Linked DNA regions of Homo sapiens: region 2 is linked to region 1. Evidence: promoter capture Hi-C in 16 types of primary human blood cells and fetal thymus (Javierre and others, 2016). All regions are on one chromosome and are shown on one strand. Each heading gives the region's core, a stretch centred on a gene start or on the middle of the fragment in contact. The rest is flanking DNA. Distances are from core to core; before and after follow the strand shown.

Evidence for each region. Contacts are between HindIII fragments. The CHiCAGO score rates a contact against its expected background, and 5 or more counts as called.
Region 2: a fragment that was not itself captured here is called in contact with the fragment with the promoter of ZFAND4 in region 1 in 1 of 17 cell types (fetal thymus); the score reaches 5.7 in fetal thymus.

Annotation. Positions count from the first base shown.
Region 1 is chr10:45,670,834-45,674,584 of GRCh38, reverse strand. It overlaps ZFAND4 (zinc finger AN1-type containing 4), which reads left to right and starts at 1,813. Exons shown (of 10, transcript NM_174890.4): 1 at 1,813-2,335. RefSeq lists a silencer at 1,511-2,230. The HindIII fragment of the contact is 4,202 bases long and covers 1-2,598 here.
Region 2 is chr10:44,986,727-44,990,412 of GRCh38, reverse strand. It overlaps RASSF4 (Ras association domain family member 4), which reads right to left. Exons shown (of 11, transcript NM_032023.4): 7 at 1,038-1,139; 8 at 692-743. Among named protein-coding and RNA genes, the nearest start is that of DEPP1, 9.8 kb to the right of the region's middle. The HindIII fragment of the contact is 6,881 bases long and covers 1-3,686 here.

The DNA of each region.
Region 1 (3,751 bases), core at 564-3,063:
TTTGTTAAATACGATGATTTTCTTTTGGAACAACTAAATCTACTCATCAATCAGTAGGATTGGTTTCAGGGGATTCAGGAGACAACAGGTTTAGAAAATACGCAAGCTGCTATTTTGAGAGGCTTGAAAGGGAGAGAGAACTTACGTTAAAAAAAAGTTCCTATGGTAACAACTTTTAATGCTATTTTATTCAGTCTCCATGGTCTATCAGATAGGTAATGTAGTAACACTAATTTTACAGATAAAGCTAAAATCTGGAAGCAATGTGGAATAATGGAACAAGGTTGGATTTTTGTATTGTGTCCTAGTTTAAATATGGCTTTCCGACATAGAGCTGTTTGATTATAGGTAAATTGTTCTACTTTAATTGGCTTTTGTTTACTCCTTTGTAGACGAGGGATTTCACTACCAACTTTGCAGGATTGTGATGGGGAGAGAATACGTAAAGACCCTTATCAACTATCTGGCACTTGAAGAATGGCAGATGATAATGATGATGATGTTGTAAAGAATGAATGACTTGGCCAGGTAATGGAGCTTCTGGTATTGGGAGGCAAGGCTTTAAACACACCTGCCTGACTCCACGGTCCATGCTGTCAATTCTCCAGTGTGAATGAAGTGGGCAGGCAAGGGTGAGAAACGCTAAGGTTTTTACTCAGTAAGTCTCCATCACAGGCCCTATTCTAGGCTCAGGAATGCAAAGATGATTACCATCATAGCTCTGTCCTCAAAGGTCTCCAATCTATTTAGCATTAAGCATATGTGGAGTTTCAGAAGGAACCAACGGCGAGACTGGTGAATCAATGCCCAGTGCCTCACCATACTCCCCCAGTGTATGCTCAATAGTTCGTTGAACTGTGGAGATAAGTTGGTGGGTAGGGTCTCAGAAGAATGAGAGAGGACAGGAGACACAGATTAGATGTTTAGTTTCATATTAGACTGGCTCCTCTGAGCCAGAAGTCGAGGATGAGTGAACCCGCAGTGGGAGTGAGATGACATTCTTTGTCAGCTGAGTAACCCACTTAGTGAAGGAGGTTCACGGAGTTGGAAAATCGGTAGGGGGAACGGAACGAGGCAGTGGGCTCCCATGTTAGGTTGAAAGGCAGGTGTTGGCTTGAAGCCAGTTACTGTTTACACCGCAGCTCAGCAGCTTGGAAACTGGAGCAGGAGGTGTGGCTGGGCTTACCCAACGCTGGGATTTGAGCCCAGGGTGCCTACTCCATTGCCTGGCCTACAGTTCTCAGTAAATTGTATGAGGACTACAGAAAGTTATCTGTTTTCGCCTTTGTCTTCAAGCAGGCACGGTAATGCCCCCATTTTCCAGATGAGGCAATTGAGGCCAGAAACATTAGGGGACGGTGAAGCCTAAAGCAGATTTGTTAGGACAGGCCGGCCCAAACGCACCAGGAGCGCCCCTCACTCTGGAGAGGCCACCGACTGGACAGCGTCTGCCTGTATCGCCTATCTCCAGCAAATCAGGCGCCTGGAAGAGGATCCCCGGTGGGTCTCACGGAGGGCGGCTCCGGCTTCAACCCCGCCGTTCCCAGCAGGCCATGCGGCTGCCCTCCAGACGCCCGCGTGGGCACGAGTCAGGGGTCCAGTGTTGCTAGTAATAAAAGATCAACATCCGGGCCTCGTAACTCACAACCTCCAGCGAATGCCAAGAAGGCCCCAGGGCCCTGGCGCCCCGGCAACCGCCCACGTCCGGGGGCCAGGCCTGCCCCCGCCCGCGCTGATTGGAGGGCAGCGAAAGCGCCGTCCAGCGATTGGTAGGTGGTGTCACAAAGGGGCGGGGCGCGGCGGCAGCGGAGCGTTGTCGGCCAGTGCCTTCCGTGAAGTTGCTCGCCGGGTCGTTGGGCCCTGTCGACCTGTAGGCGGGCGAGCGAGCCAGCGGACAAGACTGCGGGTGAGGCTGAGCTAGCGAGCGGCCGGCAGGGGGGGCGCCCGGGCTGCGAGCCGCTGAGCCCAGCCGCGCTGCCGCCGCCGGCCGTCGTGGGGCCGGAATGGCGCAAGGCCGGAGTGGCGCGGGCGCTCGGCGCTGGGCTGCCGGGTAGAGTCCTGTCCCCGCCCCTCGCCTTGCGGCCTGACGCCGGCCGCTGCTGCCCGGGGACCGGAGCGGCGGGCCGCCTTTGCCCAGGACACACGCTCTGGCGTTTGTTCCTTTGGGCGTGACGCCAGCTTCAACGGGTACGCGGCTTTCCCGACGGGTGCTGATCTCCGAGTCGCTGTTGTCACGCGGACTGCTGTCCTCCAGATTCAGGCCGGTGGGTCTGGGGAGCCCGGATTGGTCTTGGAGGAGCAACGGCTGCGCAGGTGACTCGGTGGCCTCAAGTGTGTAGGTACCTGGATGGCGCGAGGAGATGCTGGCTCTGAAATACTTCCCAATTCCGCTTGCAGATGAACTCCGGACTAGAGTTTAGGCTACAGACAAGTTAGGCGGTTGATGTGATTCTGTAGCTCGTATTTCGAACTTTAGGGATGTTTTGATGTATCAGTAAATGTAGATCTGTGTCACAGTTTTAATGGCAGCTTCACATTCCGGATATCTTTATGTTGGGGAAAATGTTTCAAAGGTAACTGCTCTTCTGTAGCTAAGCTTCTTTAGAGCAGAGGTTGGAGAAAATTCTGAGTTACTGAAATTACGTATTCAGCGCTATTGCCTGTTTACCTTTAACTTCCATTTCATCCTTGGAGTTGTGTTTTTAGAAACTTTTCAGAAGAAATGAGAGAAATGCTTTGGGAATTGATTTTTTTTTTTTTTTTAAGTTCTAGGGTACATGTGCACAACGTGCAGGTTTGGTACATAGCTATACATGTGCCATGTTGGTTTTCTGCACCGACTAACTCGTCATTTATATTGCGTATTTCTCTTAATGCTATCCCTCCCCCCATCTCACTCCCCACGACAGGCCCCAGTGTGTGATGTTCCCCTCCCTGTGTCCAAGTGTTCTCATTGTTGAGTTCCCATCTATGAGTGAGAACATGGCGGTGTTTGGTTTTCTGTCCTTGTGACAGTTTGCTGAGAATGATGGTTTCCAGCTTCATCCATGTCCATGCAAAGGACATGAACTCATCCTTTTTTTATGGCTGCATAGTATTCCATGGTGTATATGTGCCACATATTCTTAATCCACTCTATCACTGATGGACATTTGGGTTGGTTCCAAGTCTTTGCTGTTGTGAATTGTGCCACAGTAAACATACGTGTGCATGTGTCTTTATAGTGGCATGATTTATAATCCTTTGGGTATATACCCAGTAATGGGATCGCTGGGTCAAATGGTATTTCTAGTTCTAGATCCTTGAGGAATTGCCACACTGTTTTCCACAACGGTTGAACTAATTTACAGTCCCACCAACAGTGTAAAAGTGTTCCTATTTCTACACATCCTCTCCAGCATCTGTTGTTTCCTAACTTTCTAATGATCGCCATTCTAACTGGTGTGAGATGGTATCTCACTGTGGTTTTGATTTGCATTTTTCTGATGACCAGTGATGATGAGTGTTTTTTCATGTGTCTGTTGGCTGCATAAATATCTTCTTTTGAGAACTGTCTGTTCATATCCTTTGCCCACTTTTTGATGCGGTTGTTTTTTTCTTGAAAATTTGTCTAAGTTCTTTGTAGATTCTGGATATTAGCCCTCTGTCAGATGGGTAGATTGCAAAATTTTTTTCCCATTCTGTAGGTTGCCTGTTCACTCTGATGGTAGTTTCTTTTGCTGTGCAGAAGCTCTTTAGTTTAATTAGATCC
Region 2 (3,686 bases), core at 281-2,780, 680 kb after region 1:
TGCTATTTAAGCCCAAATTCTGACCATTCATCCCTGGATATTCCAAAGGGCATGCATGATGCAAGTGTTAACAAACTTCTGTTTGTTCTTCTCCTTAATCTGTCTTTTGTTAATCTAAATACAGGGCCCCAGCCAGTGAACCTAAATGGGTAGAAAGAGAAGATAATTTTCCTCCCCTACAGTGTCATTCAGCAAAGGTGCAGCTTGAAGAGAAACAAGATCTGAGGGGTGGGAGAAAGGAAAGCTGAGACGGGAGGGCCAGGGCCTGATGCACTGCGACACGCACCCCACCCTTCCTGACTCGGCGCCAAGGAGCTAGGTACCCACCCATCCATTTCTCTGGAAGAGGCGGAGAGGGAGGCTTCCTATAGCTTGGTGGGATTCTCCTTCAGAATCCTGAAAGAATTAAACTTAATGTACTGAGCGACCTAGAAAATCCAAGGACATTTTAATGTGCTTTAAATTCGAAGCCAAAAGTATGTTTTCTTTTCCTCAAGGCTTCCATAGTGTGCCTGGGTTTGGGTGGGGGAGAAATGTTCATGCTGGGAGGCACAGTGTGCCCTAGCCCACTAGGCAAGCCAGCACGGAGCCCATCTGGAAGGGAGTACAGTCAGTGGTTGGTGGGGAGGGGGCTTGCTGAACAGGTAGAGACCTTTTGCTTTTACGATCCAGAAGTGGGGCAGGTACTTACCCCCAGACTCGTGAACGATGTAGAGTGCGAACTCACTGGGGCCATCTTCCACCTGCACAGGCAGTCACAGGAAGTCAGATCACGGTGCTTGGAGATGGGAGAGAACTGAGAGGGTCCCCTGACAGTAACTACACCCCCAGTAACACACACGCAAGTTGCAAGGAACCTGTCCTCTCCCAACCTCCTCTTGCTTGAAATCCGAGAAACCAAAGCTCAGCAGAGGGACCCTTGCTAGACCTTCTGCCCAGGCAGCTTCTGCCACGGGCAGCTTTCCCCAGAACCCCACCCCCAACAGAATAGCAGACCACTGGCATCCTGGGGCAAGGCTGCTCCTGACCAGGCTTACCCTAAATTTGTTCAGCAGCAGGGTGAGCACCTGCAGGGTTGTCATGGTGCTGTTGACCCTCACATTGGTCACGGATCCATAGGCTGGAGTAAACACGGAGGTCTGTACCAGGAAGGGAGAGAAGTTCAGGTCAGGCCCAGAGGGGACAAGGGACTGACATCACAACGGTGAACAGACCAAGGCAGCAGGTGACGCTGAGATCTGGGAACACCTGCACCTGTCCATTCACGCTGATGCACACATAAGCTGTTCCCAGACCTGGGAGACACTCCGGGAAGCTGTAGTAGTGCACTCCTTCCAGAGGCCTAAGGAAGATGTCTACACACCCAGAAGGGCCAGCTCTCTGGACCCGAGGAACCAGGGCCATGGAAGTCATTCACAAGGGTGGGGGAATCAGTCTCTCCATCACTCTTTCTATTGATTAAGTCACCAGTTGTCTGTTGATTCTAAGGCTGAAAGTTACCCAATCTGTCTCCTCCTCTTCATTCTCCCAGCAGTGCCTAGTAGAGGCACTGATCACACCATATCAGCTTCCCAGCTTGTTCCCTTCTGGTCTCAGTCCCTCTAATCCGTAGTCTGCACCGCTGCCTACAGGAACGGACTTCTAAAACCCTTGCACCTCCAAGTGACGTCTAGCCCAGCTGCATCCATACAGTCTCGGCTCCCTTCCCTACCCTGCTCCATACCATCTGAATCAGAGTCTGCGTCTGTAGAACACAAGGCGAAGCGATCTGTGCAGTTCAATGTGAGAAGCACTGTTTGAAAGCGCGGGTCTAAAAGTATCTGAAGGCTTCCTGGGGACTGTGCAATAACATCTGTAGTTCTTCTCATTGTCTCGCACGTATGACACTATGGTTGCCTAACAAGCACCATGTGCTCCAGTCACAGAGCTTCTTCACAATTTGGCTGGGGGGTGGGGGGACACATTATATTTTTGCAGGTATCTTGCCTTTGCCTAAGAGACACCATATATGAAATCAACCAGGACTCTGCCTGACACATAATAGGTCCGTCCTCAATAAACCCTAGCTGTGTATTGAACCCGCTAAGATTTTACATACAATCATTGATTTAATATTCATAACAACCCTTTGAGGCAGCTATAACTAGTCCCCTTTTCTTAGAAAGGAATCAGAGGCTTTAGGAGGTTAACCAGCTTGTTCAGAGTTACCCACCTAGAAAAGACAGAGCCCTGACTCAAAGGATTCCATGATTCCTGAAAACCTACATGTTACCCCCCTGGTGCTGGTGCCTCCCAGCGAATGTGACTCCTCTGCAGGTGAACCTCTCCTTGCTTTTCAAACTCAAGTTTAGATTCGCATATTCCTCCTCTGAGATCCTAGCTCTGTTTTCCCAAGGAGGTAGCTAAGGCTCAGAGAGCTCAAGGACCTATTCAGTATCCCCGCTCTGATAAGTCCAGGCACACCTGGGAGCCATTGTGAGTTCAGGTCCAGACCATCACAATGAAGCGAATATCTCAATAAAGTGAGTCACACAAATGTTTTGGTTTCCCAGGGCATATACAAGATATGTTTATACTATACTGTAGTTTCTTAAGGGTGAGACAGTACTACATCTAAAAAATATGCATGCCTTAATTAAAACTACTTTATTGCTAAAAAATCTGACACAGAGACACAAAGTGAGCACATAGTGTTGGAAAACGGCACCGATAGACTTGTTCAACACAAGGTTGCCACACACCTTCAATTTGCAGAAACCGCAGGTGCAGCAAAAAAAAAAAAAAAAGTGCACATTTTTGCAAATGGAAGGTTGCTGAACAGCAACCTTCCATTTGCAAAAATCTGCAAGGTACAGTAACAAGAAGCACAATAAAATGAAGCACGCTGTGCCAGAGTCAGACTCAACCTCGACCTGCTTCCCCCAGCTCGATTCTAGTTGAGGTGCAGAATGACTGAGTTATACAGAAAGCCAGGATTAGGATTAGGCTTTCTTGTCCAAAGAAATATGGAAGAGAGGGCCAGGTGCAGTGGCTTACGCCTGTAATCCCAGCACTTTGGTAGGCAAAGGCGGGCGGATCACGAGGTCAGGAGTTCAAGACCAGTCTGGCCAATATGGTGAAACCCTGTCTCTACAAAAAATACAAAAATTAGCCAGGCATCGTGGTGCGCACCTGTAGTCCCAGCTACTCAGGAAGCAGAAGAATCGCTTGAACCTAGGAGGTGGAGGTTGCAGTGAGCCCAGATCGTGCCACTGCACTCCAGCCTGGCTACAGAGTGAGACTCCATCTCAAATAAAAAAAGAAACATGAAACAGAGGAGTTAGGCTATTTCAAAGGGACAAAAAGTCTTGTTAACAAGACACTGTGTTTCTTCTGCACGAAGCCTTTTCTCAAGATGATACCAACCAACTCCAAGTAGGAACAAAGGCCCCCTGGCTACTTTCTTATCTCTAACCACAAATGGTTTCTCTCTAACAGAACGCATTTGAATCCAATAGGTCAGGCAGTAGAAACAGCTACAAAGTTTCACCCTGTCTGGAAATAAAACCAACATTTCTGGGAATCAGAACAGTTTTGGAAAATGACTGAGTGAAGTAATGGTGCACAGTTCTAAGAAACAAAACCTGGAACTATCTCAGAAATTCAATGCTAGGAATTATTTATTTTTTCAATTGTTGCCTCTGACT